Linked DNA regions of Homo sapiens: regions 1, 3 and 4 are each linked to region 2. The links are contacts of gene promoters, found by promoter capture Hi-C in blood cells and fetal thymus (Javierre and others, 2016). All regions are on one chromosome and are shown on one strand. The core of a region is centred on a gene start or on the middle of the fragment in contact, and the rest is flanking DNA. Distances in the headings are between cores, read along the strand shown. Region 1 holds the start of ENTPD7 (ectonucleoside triphosphate diphosphohydrolase 7). Region 2 holds the start of R3HCC1L (R3H domain and coiled-coil containing 1 like). Region 3 overlaps GOT1-DT (GOT1 divergent transcript). Region 4 overlaps CUTC (cutC copper transporter).

Region 1 (3,418 bases), core at 552-3,051, 1.5 Mb before region 2:
CTAATTTTAGAAGAAGCTCATGGTGCTTCTACTATATATATCAGAAAAGCCTTATCTGCCCTTTTTCCAAACTGCACTTTGAGTGCAATTCAAAGACTTAATCTCATGTTAGTGAAAAGATCACCAGTCTCCCTGGGCAACCTCATAACATTGGAGAATCAGAGCAACTACAGTATTCCCAACCAAGAATTCTGTCAAGAAACAGGATGGTCAGAAAATTTATTTAACTGATTTTAAAAATGTTTTACCAGATTATACAAGCACATAGTAAAAGACAAATCAGTTTAAAAGGATATATTGTATAGTGAAAAGTGATTCTTGCCCTGACCCCACAATCTCTCAGAGGCAAACATTACTACCCAGTTGCTGTGTAATTTTTTTTTTTTTTGAGATGGAGTCTTGCTCTGTTGCCCAGGCTGGAGTGTAGTAGCGCAATCTCAGCTCACTGCAACCTCCACCTCCTGGGTTCAAGCGATTCTTCTCCCTCAGCCTCCCCAGTAGCTGGGATTACAGGTGACTGCCACCACACCCGGCTAATTTTCGTATTTTTAGTAGAGACCGGGTTTCTACTTGGCCAGGCTGGTCCTGAACTCCTGACCTCAGGTGATCTGCCTGCCTTGGCCTCCCAAAGTGCTGGGATTACAGGCGTGAGCTACTGCACCTGGCCGTTGCTGTGTATCTTTCCAGGGATATTCTACGGATACACAAGCATAAATATACACCAATATATTTACAGTAATATATCTCTGTGTGTGTGTGTGTGTGTGTGTGTGTGTGTGTGTGCGTATCCATTCCCTCGGTTTTACACAAATGGTAGTCCACCATACCTGCTGTTCTGCATCTTTCCCCCACTTTATTTTATAACTTTCCCTTATTGGTGCATGTAGATCCACATTAATATTTTTTAAAAGCTTCAGGTTATTATAATGTATGGATAAGTGTATTCATCTGTGAAGTTCACTTTGTATATTGATTCAAAAGGACCTCGGTCTGTCTGCTTTTAAAGTTCACTGCAAACAAAAAACAAAAAAACTTCTTTGTTTAACCTCCTCAAGTGGCACCTAGCCTTGCTCAGATGCGAATCTGAATCAATGTTACAACCTTGCACTTTACAGAGCTGAGCAAGCCGACTCACTCTACCACTCCTGGTCTATGGGCTAGAAACTATTATTTATCAGCCCTCGAAATAATACAACTTTGATCGTCTCTGCATCCAACTAACCAGAATACAAAGTCCAAGTGCAGCTCCAGGGCAAACCTCACTTGGGACAGCCTCCCAGGGCCCCCCAACCTGCCTGCCATCCTCTGCCGTGCTCCCAGCCGGAGGGAAAGTGTGCAGCCTTACCTAGCCATGGGTTCCCTTCGGTGGTCTCAACGCCTGTCACCTTCTTTTTCTTTTGCCCTGAGAAGGTGGCCTCCTTGTCCCAGGCATCTCCTACGTCTGCAGCCTAGAAAGATTTGATTTCAGGCTTCTGTCCGACTGAGCCCACGAGACAAACCTGCACGGGAATTCCACGGCTCCCACCTCCTCCCCAGGCTCCCGCTCCGTCTGCTCTGGTTCCTCAGGCCCAGGGGACCCTACCCGGGCATCCTGGGAGCGGGGCGTTCTCGTGGGCCAGCTCTGTCCTCTAGGAACCGGTCGTCCCCAGGTGGCGGGGTGTGGGTCCCGCTTCCTCTCCCCGTCCCTCCGGGTCCCACAGCCCTCTCGCGCCCACACTCACGGGATCAAGCGGCCCGCCGGTTCCTTCGGCACCTCTCGGTTCAGTCCCGAGCTGCTCCCCGCGGCCCCTTGCCCAGCCGGAAGGAGGGCCCGGCCGGCGGCGGCGCCACGTCCCCAAGGAAACCGCAGGGAGCCAATGACTGACAGAAGACTCACGGAGGGGCCGGCTCTCCACGAGCCGAACCGGGGGCGAACCAGCTCGGTCAGCAGCACGTCCGTCCGCCAGGGTGGCCAATCCCCTAGAGCGCTCGGCCTCTGATGCCCGCCCCGGGACTTTGAGCCGCGCCCAATCGGAAAGGCGTCGTACCGAGGCTCCGCCTGCAGGGCCCGCGGAGAGCTCACAGGTGAGTGGCGCTGGGCGGCCCTGTGCCCGCTTCCCTCCCTGGGGCGCGAACTCTCGGCTGGTTGCTTTCTCCACGGCCGCTCCTGGGACAGAGTAGCTCCGGTAGGTGGGTTCAGGGTGTTCGCGACCGAAGCGCATCCCTTGCCCATAACCTATTGTTGGTTTTGTGCCCACTGACCCTCCCTACCAGAATGGCAGTTCTCTCACCTTAAACCTTCCCTATCACCTCCCAAACTGATGCCCCGACCTCACTGTCTTGCCCCGTGAGAAAACAGAAATCGAAGACAATGACGTTTACACCAAAGTGCTTATGTCCATTCATTCATTCATTGAATGTCTGCTTATGCCAGTCATCATGAATTTCTGTGTCGCCGCCCTCCTTGACCTTACAGTAACACAAAGGAAACGACGCGCGCGCGTGGGTGTGTGTGTGTTTCTTTCTTGCTTACACCAGCCGTTATCTCATTTCCAGGAGGACGGCATAAAGTCCAAGCTCTTTCCAACGTGGCACATCCATTGCGCCCCACGATCCGCCCTACCGCCGTCCTCTGCCGCTACTTGCCTTCCTTACCACGCTCCAGCAACGCGTCCTGTTTTGCTCATTCTGCCCCTCCACCTGCCTTGAATAACCGTCCCAGCCTCTTAGCCAAATCACCTCCTACTCATCCCTTACCACCCATCTTAAGGGTCGCCTTCCCCTAAAAGCCCTACTTGACCTACTACACCTTTTTTATACATGCCTATTGTTTCACTTAGCACGTTGAATTACTATTATACGTATATGTCTGTCTGTCTGTCCCACTAGACAGAATATCCTTGAAGGCAGGGACTATTTGCTTCCACATATTCCCAATACTGGCCACTGCCTGGCAGATAAAACACAACTAATGTATAATTAATAAGCAAATGAATGAATGGGGGGGATCGGGGAGGAAGACCACCCAAATGCTTTATTTATTCAAAGCTTACTATGACAAGGGAGTCAGTCACCATCACTTGCATTTGGCCGACTCAAAGCCTGTCAGGACATTAGGAAAACTACTTACTTACTTAATTACCTACAGGGTCTCACTCTGTTGTCATCCAGGCTGGAGTGCAGTGGTGCGATCGTGGTTCACTGCAGCCTCGACCTCCTGAGCAAGCGATCCTCCCACCTCAACCTCCTGAGTAGCTGGCTCTACAGGCACGTGCCACCATGCCCAGCTTATTTTTTTTTAATTCTTTGTAGAGATGGAGTCTCACTATGTTGTCCAGGCTGGTCTTGAACTCCTGGGCTCAAGCAGTCTTCCTGTCTCAGCCTCCCAAAGTGCTGGGATTACAGGGATGAGCAGCTGCACCTGGCCAGGAAAGCTTAG
Region 2 (3,309 bases), core at 222-2,721:
TAATACCAACACTTTGGGAGGTCGAGGCGGGAGGATCATTTGAGCCCAGGAGTTAGACCAATCTGGGCGACATAGTGAAATCCTGATTCTACCCAAAAAAAAAAAAAAAACTGATTGCAGAATTAGCATTCTCTGTAAGGGGAAAAATAAGACAATAAGCAACTTGCTTAGTCTCAAAGCTTAATGTCAAAAAAAATTAAACAGATGGGATATTTGGCTATTTATATTCTGAATTTCAACTGTGACACAAGACACAAGACCTGCTGGGGACAGGTATTAGTTGTAGTACAACCATATCTGAGGAACGTTTACTGCTTTATGCTTGTACCTGTGTGATACTGAAGGAAGGTTATAACAGCAAGAGATAGTTGTGTGTGCTGAGGAAGAAGAGTCTAAATTCTGGTGGGCCTTAAAATCCAGATGAAGTTTTAAATTGACTCCACAGGTGGTAACGCCCTAAGGTCACCTCTTCACTAGGAACCTGGCATAAAAACATCTGTATGGTTCAGATTCGTTTCCAAAGACACTTTCCCCCTATTTATTAACTAATTTGATCTTCGTATAGACATGAACCTGGTTTTAAAACTCAACTGACCTAGACTGGAGACTGGGGGATGGCAAGGTTATACCCGAAACATACTTTAGAGTTCAAAGCTTTCGCAGGAATATCACTTCTGCTGAAGCCCACAACCCTGGAAGGCCGCAGGGCAAAGAACATTAACCCCACTTTTCAGACAACGAAACCGAGGCTGCGCTAAACAGACTACTGTACAAAAGATCACAGGTCCAGCCAAGTGGCGGACTGAGACTTCCCCCAGGATATCAGACTCCAAATCCTGTGCTCCTTCCCGTACACAACTGAGAGGGGGCTGCACTCACAAACTTTAAAGATCGGACTTGGGGTTTTTCGCAGGCCTGCCAAGAAAAAGCAGGAAGTACATGCTCCTTTATAGATTGCTCACTCCCAGCCCGTAGCCCGGGGCTCCCGGGCAGCGGAGGAGGCTCAAAGGCGAGGCTCGAAGCGAAGCCCGGAAACCGCCGGCAGCCCTGGGGGCCCACGGCCCCGCAGCCCCGAGGGGGTAACCAGGGACCCCGCTCAATACCTGTTGAAACCCAGAAAAAGCACGTCCTTTCCGCCAGGATCATTTGGGGCGAGCGCCCAAAGCGAGCACGAGCCCCAGTGAGTGCAAAAGAGCCCCGGGAGGGTCCCTCTCAACCGCGGGCCCGCAGGGGTCAGAAGGCGGGAGCTTCCCAGTAACCTCCGCCCCAGGCAGGGGGCGGCCCCTCGCGTCACATGAGGAAAAAAAATACCAGCAACAAACGACGGAATGGAAGTCTTGTCCCGGGCTGTGAAGGGAGAAGTGGGGATTAAAAATCCTAGCTTGAGGTACAGAGGGAGGGGATACGGGGCTGGTTGTTACCGGCGCGCTGTTGCTCTCCGCTTCCGCCGTCTCCGCGAAGCTCTATCTCTTCCGCTCGCGCCGCTGGGGCGCGCGTCAGGCCTCGGCTCCGCCCCCAACGCCGTGGGGCCTTCTGGGGGTTGTAGTTTCCGCGAGGCCCGGCCGCGCCCACTGAGTTCAGGTCACGTAGGGGAGAAGCTGGCAAAATGGCGAGTGCCGGAGAGCATTTCTGCTCCTGTCCCTTCAACCCTTCCTCATTCCTCTCGGCTATATACGTGCGCAAATCTCCTTACATTCCACTCAATTATACCATCTCACTTCCTCCGTTCACAGCCAAGTTTTTTGAAAAAGATAATCTACACTGTCTCTACTTGCTCATCTGTGTTCACTCCTCATCGCAGCTTCCGCCCCCATGGAAAATGCCTTGTTGTCATAAGTGTCCTTGTTGCCAAACTCATTGGAGGTATTTCCGGACTCATCTAACTCAAGCTTTAGTCATTTGACGCTATTGGGCATTATCACTTATTTTCTATGACACTATCCAGGTTTTCCTTCTCTGAATTCATTCTACTTTGTTTCCTCTAACTTACCTCTAAAATATTGGTGTTTTCCAGAGTTCTTAAAATTGGGGTGGGAGAGGGGACACTCCAGTCCCTTCTCACCTGAGCTCATTGTTTGTATTCCCAACTTCCTAGACAAGACCTCTCCTCATCCATGCCCACAGGCATCTCCAGTGTCCTTGAAAAGTGAACTACTGGGGCCAGGAACAGTGGCTCATGCCTGTAATCCCAGCACTTTGGGAGGCCAAGGCAGGTGGATCACCTGCGGTCAGGAGTTCGAGACCAGCCTGACCAACATGGTGAAACCCTGTCTCTACTAAAAGTACAGAAATTAGCTGTGCGTGGTGGTGGGCACCTGTAATCCCAGCTACCCAGGAGGCCGAGGCAGGAGAATTGCTTGAAGGAGAATCGCTTGAACCCGGGAGGCGGAGGTTGCAGTAAGCCAAAATTGCACCACTGCACTCCAGCCTGGGCAACACAGGGAGACTCCGTCCCCCAAAAAAAGAAAAGTAAACTACTACCCCTCCTCCCTACTCATTAATATTCACTCTTTAACCTGATTCCTCCTTTCTCACTTCCTCTTCCTCCAATATTCAAATGGTCACCAAATCTTGGAGATTCTATTGTAGCAGGACGAGCCGCAGACAAAACCTCTCAGACACCAAGTTGTAGAACGAAGGGCTTTATTCAGCTGGGAGCATCGGCAAGCTACTGTCCTAAAATCCAAGCTCCCCGAGTGCACAATTTCTGTCCCTTTTAAGGGCTCACCACACTAAAGATTTCACATGAAAGGGTCGTGATTGATTGAGCAATCTGGGGTGTATGTGACAGGGGCTTCATGCAGTGGTAGTCAGAGTGAAACAGAACAGAGTACAATGTTCTTCCATACAATGCCTGGAATCTATGCTAAGTCATGAGTTGATTTTTAACTACTAGGTTTAGGCCAGGCAGGCCCAGGCCTGGTTTCAGGTCTGGTTTTGGGTCTGGTGCCTGGTGCTGGGCTGCCTGCCTTTGGTTTCACTTCCTTGTTTTTTTTCTTAAAACAGGTACTGAGTATAAAACAATATAAAACAATATGAGAGGGTCTCTTTCTTCTCTCACTATCTCCCAAGTACTCCTTGAATCTGTTCCTTCTTCAGGACTCCTAACTCATGACTCAGCTGCTCCTGTGGCCCCACCCAGAGGTGGACTCAGAGCATGAGGACTGTTTTCCACACCCCTATGATTTCATTCCCAACCCATCAGCAGCACCCATTCCCTAGCCCCCTGCCCACCAAAATGTCCATAAAAACCCTAACCTCTGAACCTTCAGGGAGTTTGATTTAAGATAACTCTGTCATCAATTAAAT
Region 3 (3,262 bases), core at 342-2,841, 1.3 Mb before region 2:
TATTAAACACTTGTTGCAGAACAAGTAATAATCATTAGGCAATTTTACATCTATTCTAATTAAAACTCGGATGCAAATATCCTCATTCATTCCTTCAGCCAATATTTATTGTCTGTTCGATGTCAGGAGCTGTTCTCGGTCTTTGGATACAGAATTGTGGGATTCATTTTTTTTCTTCAATTCTCAAGTTCAGGAGTACATGTGCAGGATGTGCAGGTTTGTTACATAGGTAAATGTGTGCCGTGGTGGTTTGCTGCATAGATCATCCTGTCACCTAGCTATTCAGCCAAGCATCCATTAGCTGTTCTTTCTGATGCCCTCCTTCCTCCTACTCCCACCCCTGACAGGCCCCAGTGTGTGTTATTCCCCTTCATGTATCCATGTGTTCTTCATCATTCAGCCCCACTTATGAGAACATGCAGTATTTGGCAGTATTTGGTTTTCTGTTCCTGCGTTAGTTTGCTACGGATAATGGGGATTCATATTTTTAAAAATCACTAATTTATTAACTAAGGAGCATCAATAGCTCCCCAGATTTCCAGATCAACTCTAAACTGTAGCACACCACATTGTTCTTTATTTAAAAATAGTTTCTCATAGTATCTGAAGTTTTAAGTTACTACACACATACATACTTTGCTTTGGAGAATTACTTTTTCCTGTCCTACTTCATTGTCATTGTTAGAAACTATCTAAATTTTCTATTCCTGTGAAGTGTCTCTCAAGCCTGTTTTTAAAAAATTTTTATTTATTTTTGTTGACTCAGCAGGTGACTTGTTACACACGCCTTAGTGGATTCGACTTCCATGGCCACTGTCCTGCTTCAAACCTGTCATTTTTATTTTCAATGAAAACTTGATTTTTTTTTAGGCTACAAAAATAATACATGTGTTTACTCTTTTTCTGTTAAAGCAAAGCTACAATGCATAACTGTATGCCTACATACCTATCTTTGAAAACTTGTATAAATTTCTTTAGGATAGATTCCTAGAGGAGAAATTGCTTGGTCAAATGGTATTATGTGCATTTTGACTGTTATTACCAAAATACAAGAAAAGGCTTTATTCATTGACAGTCTCCCCAATAGTGCATGTCATTGCTCTTTTCCCTCAACACTATTTTTTGAACATTTAAAATGTTTGTCAGTCTAATGGGTAAACATTGATAAATCAGCGTGGTTTCAATTTTATAATGAGGATGATTTTGGACATGTTTACTGGTTATTTGTATTTATTCTTTTCTGAATTTCTTTATATCCTAATTTTTCCACCAATACAATGAAGCTCTGACTATATAACAGATGTGACTAATAAGCATGTTGCAAATATTCTTCCATGTTATCACATATTTATTTATGGTGTCTATAGCCATGCAAAGTCAATTATTTTCTTTATAGCTTCTGAGATTGTGCCATGATTAGGAAAGTCTATTCTACCCTAATACTATGTTTCAAATATATTATTTTCCCTATATTGTTTAAAATATTTAAATCTTATATCCATCTATAATTTATTTTGTGCAAAGGAGAAACCAATTTTTTAATATATCAAACAAATCTGACATAATTGACGGTCACAACATCAGATGAAAATCTGTGCTTGAAAAGGTGCATTGTTTTTAAAAGAGTTAAATACAATCTTGCCATCTTGAGAGTTCCAGAACTCTCTACAGCCAATGCAAGGGCCTTTTCTAGGACAGTTTCCCGTCATACTCCAGGCCTCACACATACCGGCCAAATAAAAATGCTATTGTGATACCAATAGTGATTAGAAATAATACTTTATTTTCAGTAATTAACAAAAGTCAGATATCCTGAAAATCAAATAATTGGCAAGTGAGTTTATATTTTAACCTGATAATTTCCTTCTCATAAATGTTTAATTGTATGTTAGACATAAATCACTCAAGAAAGCATTTTATAGCGGCACCTTCTTTTCTGGCATCTATTTTCAGGTTTATAGAAAATGGCTAGGCCAGGCACAGTTGCTCATGCCTGTAATCCCACCACTTTGGGCTGCTGAGGCGGGTGGATCACTTGAGGTCTGGAGTTCTAGGCCAGTCTTGGCCAACATGGTAAAACACCATTTCTACTAAAAATACAAAAACTTGCCAGGCGTGGTGGCAGGCACATGTAATCCCAGCTACTCGGGAGGCTGAGGCAGGAGAATCACTTGAACCTGGGAGGCAGCAGTTGCAGTGAGCCAGGATGGTGCCACTGAACTCCAGCTTGGGCGACACAGCAAGACTCTGTCTCAAAAAAAAAGAATTCTGGATGAAAAAGTCCTAGAGATGTGTTGCACAACAATGTGCATATAGTAAACACTAATATACAGTATACTTAAAAATGATTAAGATGGTAAATACATGTTTTTTTACCACAATTTTAAAAAGAGTTAATTATGTCTTGTGGTTTATGTTTTTAATCAACCAACAAATATTTGAGTACCTAGATACCTTATTGTGGAGGATACCAAGAAGTGCAATTGATGGTTTCAGTTCTCAAGGAACTAGCAACCAAGTTGGGAGAAAATATTGAGTATACATAAAAGTTAATTAACAATCTCAGGCAATAGAATGATACCAAATGAGGAGAAGAGACATAAAGTCTTCTAGGCAGGAATCTTTTTGGGCTACAGTGATAGAAATATTCATTAGGTACTTAAATGGCTTTCAAACCATTTTAATACATATTTTCTAAATTGACCCTTTTAATAAATCTAGGAGGTATTATCTCCATTTAACAGATGAAATAAAAGCTCAGAGACTGTAATTTGCCCAACTTCACATGGCAGAGCTGGGAACTAGACTCAACGTCTTTCAGTGCTTATTCCTAGTGGGATTTATCTAAATTGGCATTGAAGATTTGCTGCCAAAAGAGTTTTCAGGGTTAAACAGAATCCAAATGTGCTAGGATTACCATGGTTTTGTATTTGCTAAAATTAGAATTATTCTGTCAGCTTGCTAAAGAGCATCAAGTAACTTTAGTAAAAAATAACAGATCATTTTTTCTTGCTGTTTACCGGTTAGGGAAACTCAAATCATACTGTGATAGAATGACGACGAGCATACAAGGCTTCAATTTCACTACTTATACACAGCCATTTAGCCAACTGCAGTCCCATGAAAGACATTCTTTACCCATCTTGTCTGACACCACTCCTTAAAGTCATAATACACATACTGTATTTGAGCTAGTTCTGACCTGACCCACGTATGACAGAGAGCAACACTAACACAGCAGAATAAAGGCAGTGAATAAGAA
Region 4 (3,143 bases), core at 44-2,543, 1.6 Mb before region 2:
GTACAGGGAGGACAGAAAGATAACACTGGAGTAGCAAAGACTATCTCAATGGTTTAAAAAAAGGATTTTTTTTAAAAAAGATAGGCTTGGTACGGTGGCTCATGCCTGTAATCCCAGTGCTTTGGGAGGCTGAGATGGGTGGATTGCCTGAGGCAAGGAGTTCAAGACCAGTCTGGGTAAAATGGTGAGACTCCATCTCTACCAAACAAACAAACAAACAAATGTAGCTGGACATGGTGGCATATGCCTGTAATCCTAGCTACTTGAGAGGCTGAGGCAGGACAATTGCTTGAGCCCAGGAGTTTGAGGCTGTAGGGAGCTATGGTCACACCACTTCAGTCAAGCCTGGACAACAGGTGAGACCCTGTCAAAAGAAAAAAAGGAAGGAAGGAAAGCAAAGAGAGAGAAAAGGAGAAGGAAAGAAAAGAAAGGAAAGGAAGGAATGAAAGAAGAAAGGAAGACAGATAACTCTGGAGGTCTGCAGAGAACCTCCTTTAATATTCAGCTGAGTACTGACCGGTGCATGCATGCAAAGAAACTACGCAAGGCCTGGGACAGAACCAATAAAAAGGATTAGAAATAATGTGCCTGTCATTCATACCAAGCTGTGAATAATGCCTATTCCACCAGCCAGACAGGAAAATTTCAAAATTCATGGTCACAGGGTAGAGTTCACAGAAGAATCCTGACTCAGTAGTAAGGAATAATTAGCTCTGTATTAACCACTGCTCCAGACTTGCCCAGCAAATCTTAAAAGCAAGACCCAAAAGGACCAAACTGTTTTGGAACATTTGTAGGAATTCAAAAATGTCTAGTAACCAATAAAGTAAAATTCACAATGTCTTGCATCCAATAAAAAATTACAAGGCAGGAAAATAAGATATATTATTAGATGATAAATCAAATGAAACAAACCCAGAACTGATATAGATGTTAGAATTCGCAGACAAGGTCATTATAACAGCTATCATAACTTTATTCCACATGTTCAAAAAAGTTAAGAGACATCAGAGACATAAAAAGACTCAAATTTCTACAGATGAAGACTACAATGTATGAGATGAAAACATACCAGGAGAGACTAATAGCAGATTAGATAGTGCAGAAGAAAAGGTCAGTAAGCTCAAGGACAAAACAATAGCAACTATGCAAAATGAAAACACAGAAAGGAGATTTTCTTTTAAATAGAGAAGTTCATCAGTGACTTTTGGGACAATTTCAAGTAGTCTAATGTAAGAATAGCTTAAGTCTCTAAAGGAGGGAGTGGAGAACAAGCTGCAAGCTGAAAATTTTCCAAATGTGATGAGAAGTATAAATGCACAGGTCCAAGAAACATGAAAAAACTATACTCAGGTACACCATAAGAAAATTGTTCAAAACCAATAATAAAAAAATCTTAAAAGTAGGTAGAAAAAAGAGACATATTACATAGAGAAAAACAAAGATATGGATGATAGCTTTTTGTCAGAAACAATACAAGCAAGACGACAATGGAAAAACATCTTCAAAGAAAAAAAAAACCTGTCAACCTAGAATTCTATACCCAGCAAAAATACCTTTCAAAAATGAAGGAAAAAGCTATTTTAGACATATAAAAGCTGAAGGAATGAATCACTAGCATACTTTTTAACAAAAAAAGTTAAAGAAAGTACTTCAGGCAGAATGAAAATGAAACCAGACAGAAATACGGGATCTACACAAAGGAATAAAGAACACCAGAAATGGTAGTTGCATGTGGGTAAATATATGATTTTTTTCTTATTATTTAAATCTCTTATTTAACAAAAGATAATTGACTCTTCAAACAAAACTAACAATACAGCATGGAGTTTTTGATATATGTATGAGTAAAATATATGACAACAATAGCACAAAGACCAGGAGGGGATTTCAATATACTAAGGATGCCAGCATGGAAAGATTTTATAAAAGCCTAATCCTTGATGTTACTACAGAGCAGCTGAACCGGTATTAACAATTACCTACCTACCTTTCAACTTTTTGATGTGAGAAAGAAATATGTTTGATCAAATCTTTGATTTTTTTACAATCATAAACATTTCTGATACAACATCCATAACATAGTTAACATGACATTAGTAAAGGACCCCAACGAAACTGATTATCAGTTGCTTCCAGGCTCTATGAACTCCAATCAGAAAACCTGGGAAAAATGGACACTTACCCATGCTGGGTGTAGTTCCCCCCTCTGATAAACCAGAACATAATTCAATCCGATCAGCACCTGTAATATAAAAGCATTGCTCAACACATTTTTAAAAAATAAGCTGTTATTAAACAGCAACCTGTTTATATATATTTTTTCCAAATATAGAACAGTCTTAGAAATCATCTCAGAGAAATCAAATTATAAAGCTAGAGTAAAACTCTGTTTTTAACTCAGCTATACTCTGCAGCCCACATTGTGTTACTCATACTCAAATTTAAAAATTAATTAAAGTTAAGCTAGTTCTCTTAAATTTTTGTATTATAGGGTTGCCTCTCTATGTACAGGAAAGTAACATAGAATAAAGATGTTTCTTAAAACTGACTATAGTGGAATACTGAGTCTTTGTTGATAAGAAAATAACATAATATTTCCCAAAAGGGTCTTTATTATTCTAAGCTTTAAAAAACACAAAGCTACTTTTGAGTAGCTAAACCAAGATAATTTCAAGAATAAGAAAATGCTGAAACCAAAAGAATTATTAGGCTACCAAGGTCACATCAAAAGATCTCAGGAACCAGTTTGAAGAAGCTCTCACTAGCCAAAGATAGAACATTTTGTTCATCAATAAGCAGAATAACTACAATGGATTAAAACACACAAAATATATCTAAATCTACATTCATAATGACAAAACAATTCAAGGGAAGACAGAGAACAAATTCATTATTCTAAAAAGTATTATAATAAATAAGGGAAAATAAGCAAGCATTTATTCTGCCTTTCTTATACAAACCATACTTCAGCATAACCAAACAGAGGATGAGGGAAAGTTCTTTACAGAACTATTCTAGTTCATAAGTGAAAAATAAATGTCACCATTTTGCAACCCCTACTAAAATATGGGTTGCTAAATTTATTAGGTGAAAAGCTGACAGAAAACCTTAAGGATAGATTAGGCTGGCAATACCTGAAC

Evidence for each region. The method cuts DNA at HindIII sites, captures the fragments that hold promoters and counts their contacts. A CHiCAGO score of 5 or more calls a contact.
Region 1: the fragment with the promoter of ENTPD7 here is called in contact with the fragment with the promoter of R3HCC1L in region 2 in 4 of 17 cell types (total CD4 T cells, total CD8 T cells, non-activated CD4 T cells and 1 more); the score reaches 8.8 in total CD4 T cells.
Region 3: a fragment that was not itself captured here is called in contact with the fragment with the promoter of R3HCC1L in region 2 in 1 of 17 cell types (total CD8 T cells); the score reaches 6.0 in total CD8 T cells.
Region 4: a contact is called between a fragment that was not itself captured here and the fragment with the promoter of R3HCC1L in region 2, in 2 of 17 cell types (naive CD8 T cells and total CD4 T cells). The highest score is 6.5, in naive CD8 T cells.

The regions. Positions count from the first base shown.
Region 1 is chr10:99,657,892-99,661,309 of GRCh38, reverse strand. It overlaps ENTPD7 (ectonucleoside triphosphate diphosphohydrolase 7), which reads right to left and starts at 1,801. Exons shown (of 13, transcript NM_020354.5): 1 at 1,722-1,801; 2 at 1,346-1,448. The coding sequence starts at 1,353. It also overlaps a transcript of SLC25A28 not described here. RefSeq lists silencers at 1,573-1,792, 1,913-2,122. The HindIII fragment of the contact is 2,116 bases long and covers 914-3,029 here.
Region 2 is chr10:98,132,819-98,136,127 of GRCh38, reverse strand. R3HCC1L (R3H domain and coiled-coil containing 1 like) reads right to left here and starts at 1,471. Exons shown (of 10, transcript NM_001351015.2): 1 at 1,422-1,471. RefSeq lists enhancers at 773-912, 255-1,044. The HindIII fragment of the contact is 1,235 bases long and covers 657-1,891 here.
Region 3 is chr10:99,436,616-99,439,877 of GRCh38, reverse strand. The region is part of intron 3 of GOT1-DT (GOT1 divergent transcript); the gene reads right to left. Among named protein-coding and RNA genes, the nearest start is that of GOT1-DT, 7.3 kb to the right of the region's middle. The HindIII fragment of the contact is 4,686 bases long and covers 1-3,262 here.
Region 4 is chr10:99,738,812-99,741,954 of GRCh38, reverse strand. It overlaps CUTC (cutC copper transporter), which reads right to left. Exons shown (of 9, transcript NM_015960.3): 3 at 2,186-2,245. Among named protein-coding and RNA genes, the nearest start is that of CUTC, 8.1 kb to the right of the region's middle. The HindIII fragment of the contact is 2,671 bases long and covers 1-2,628 here.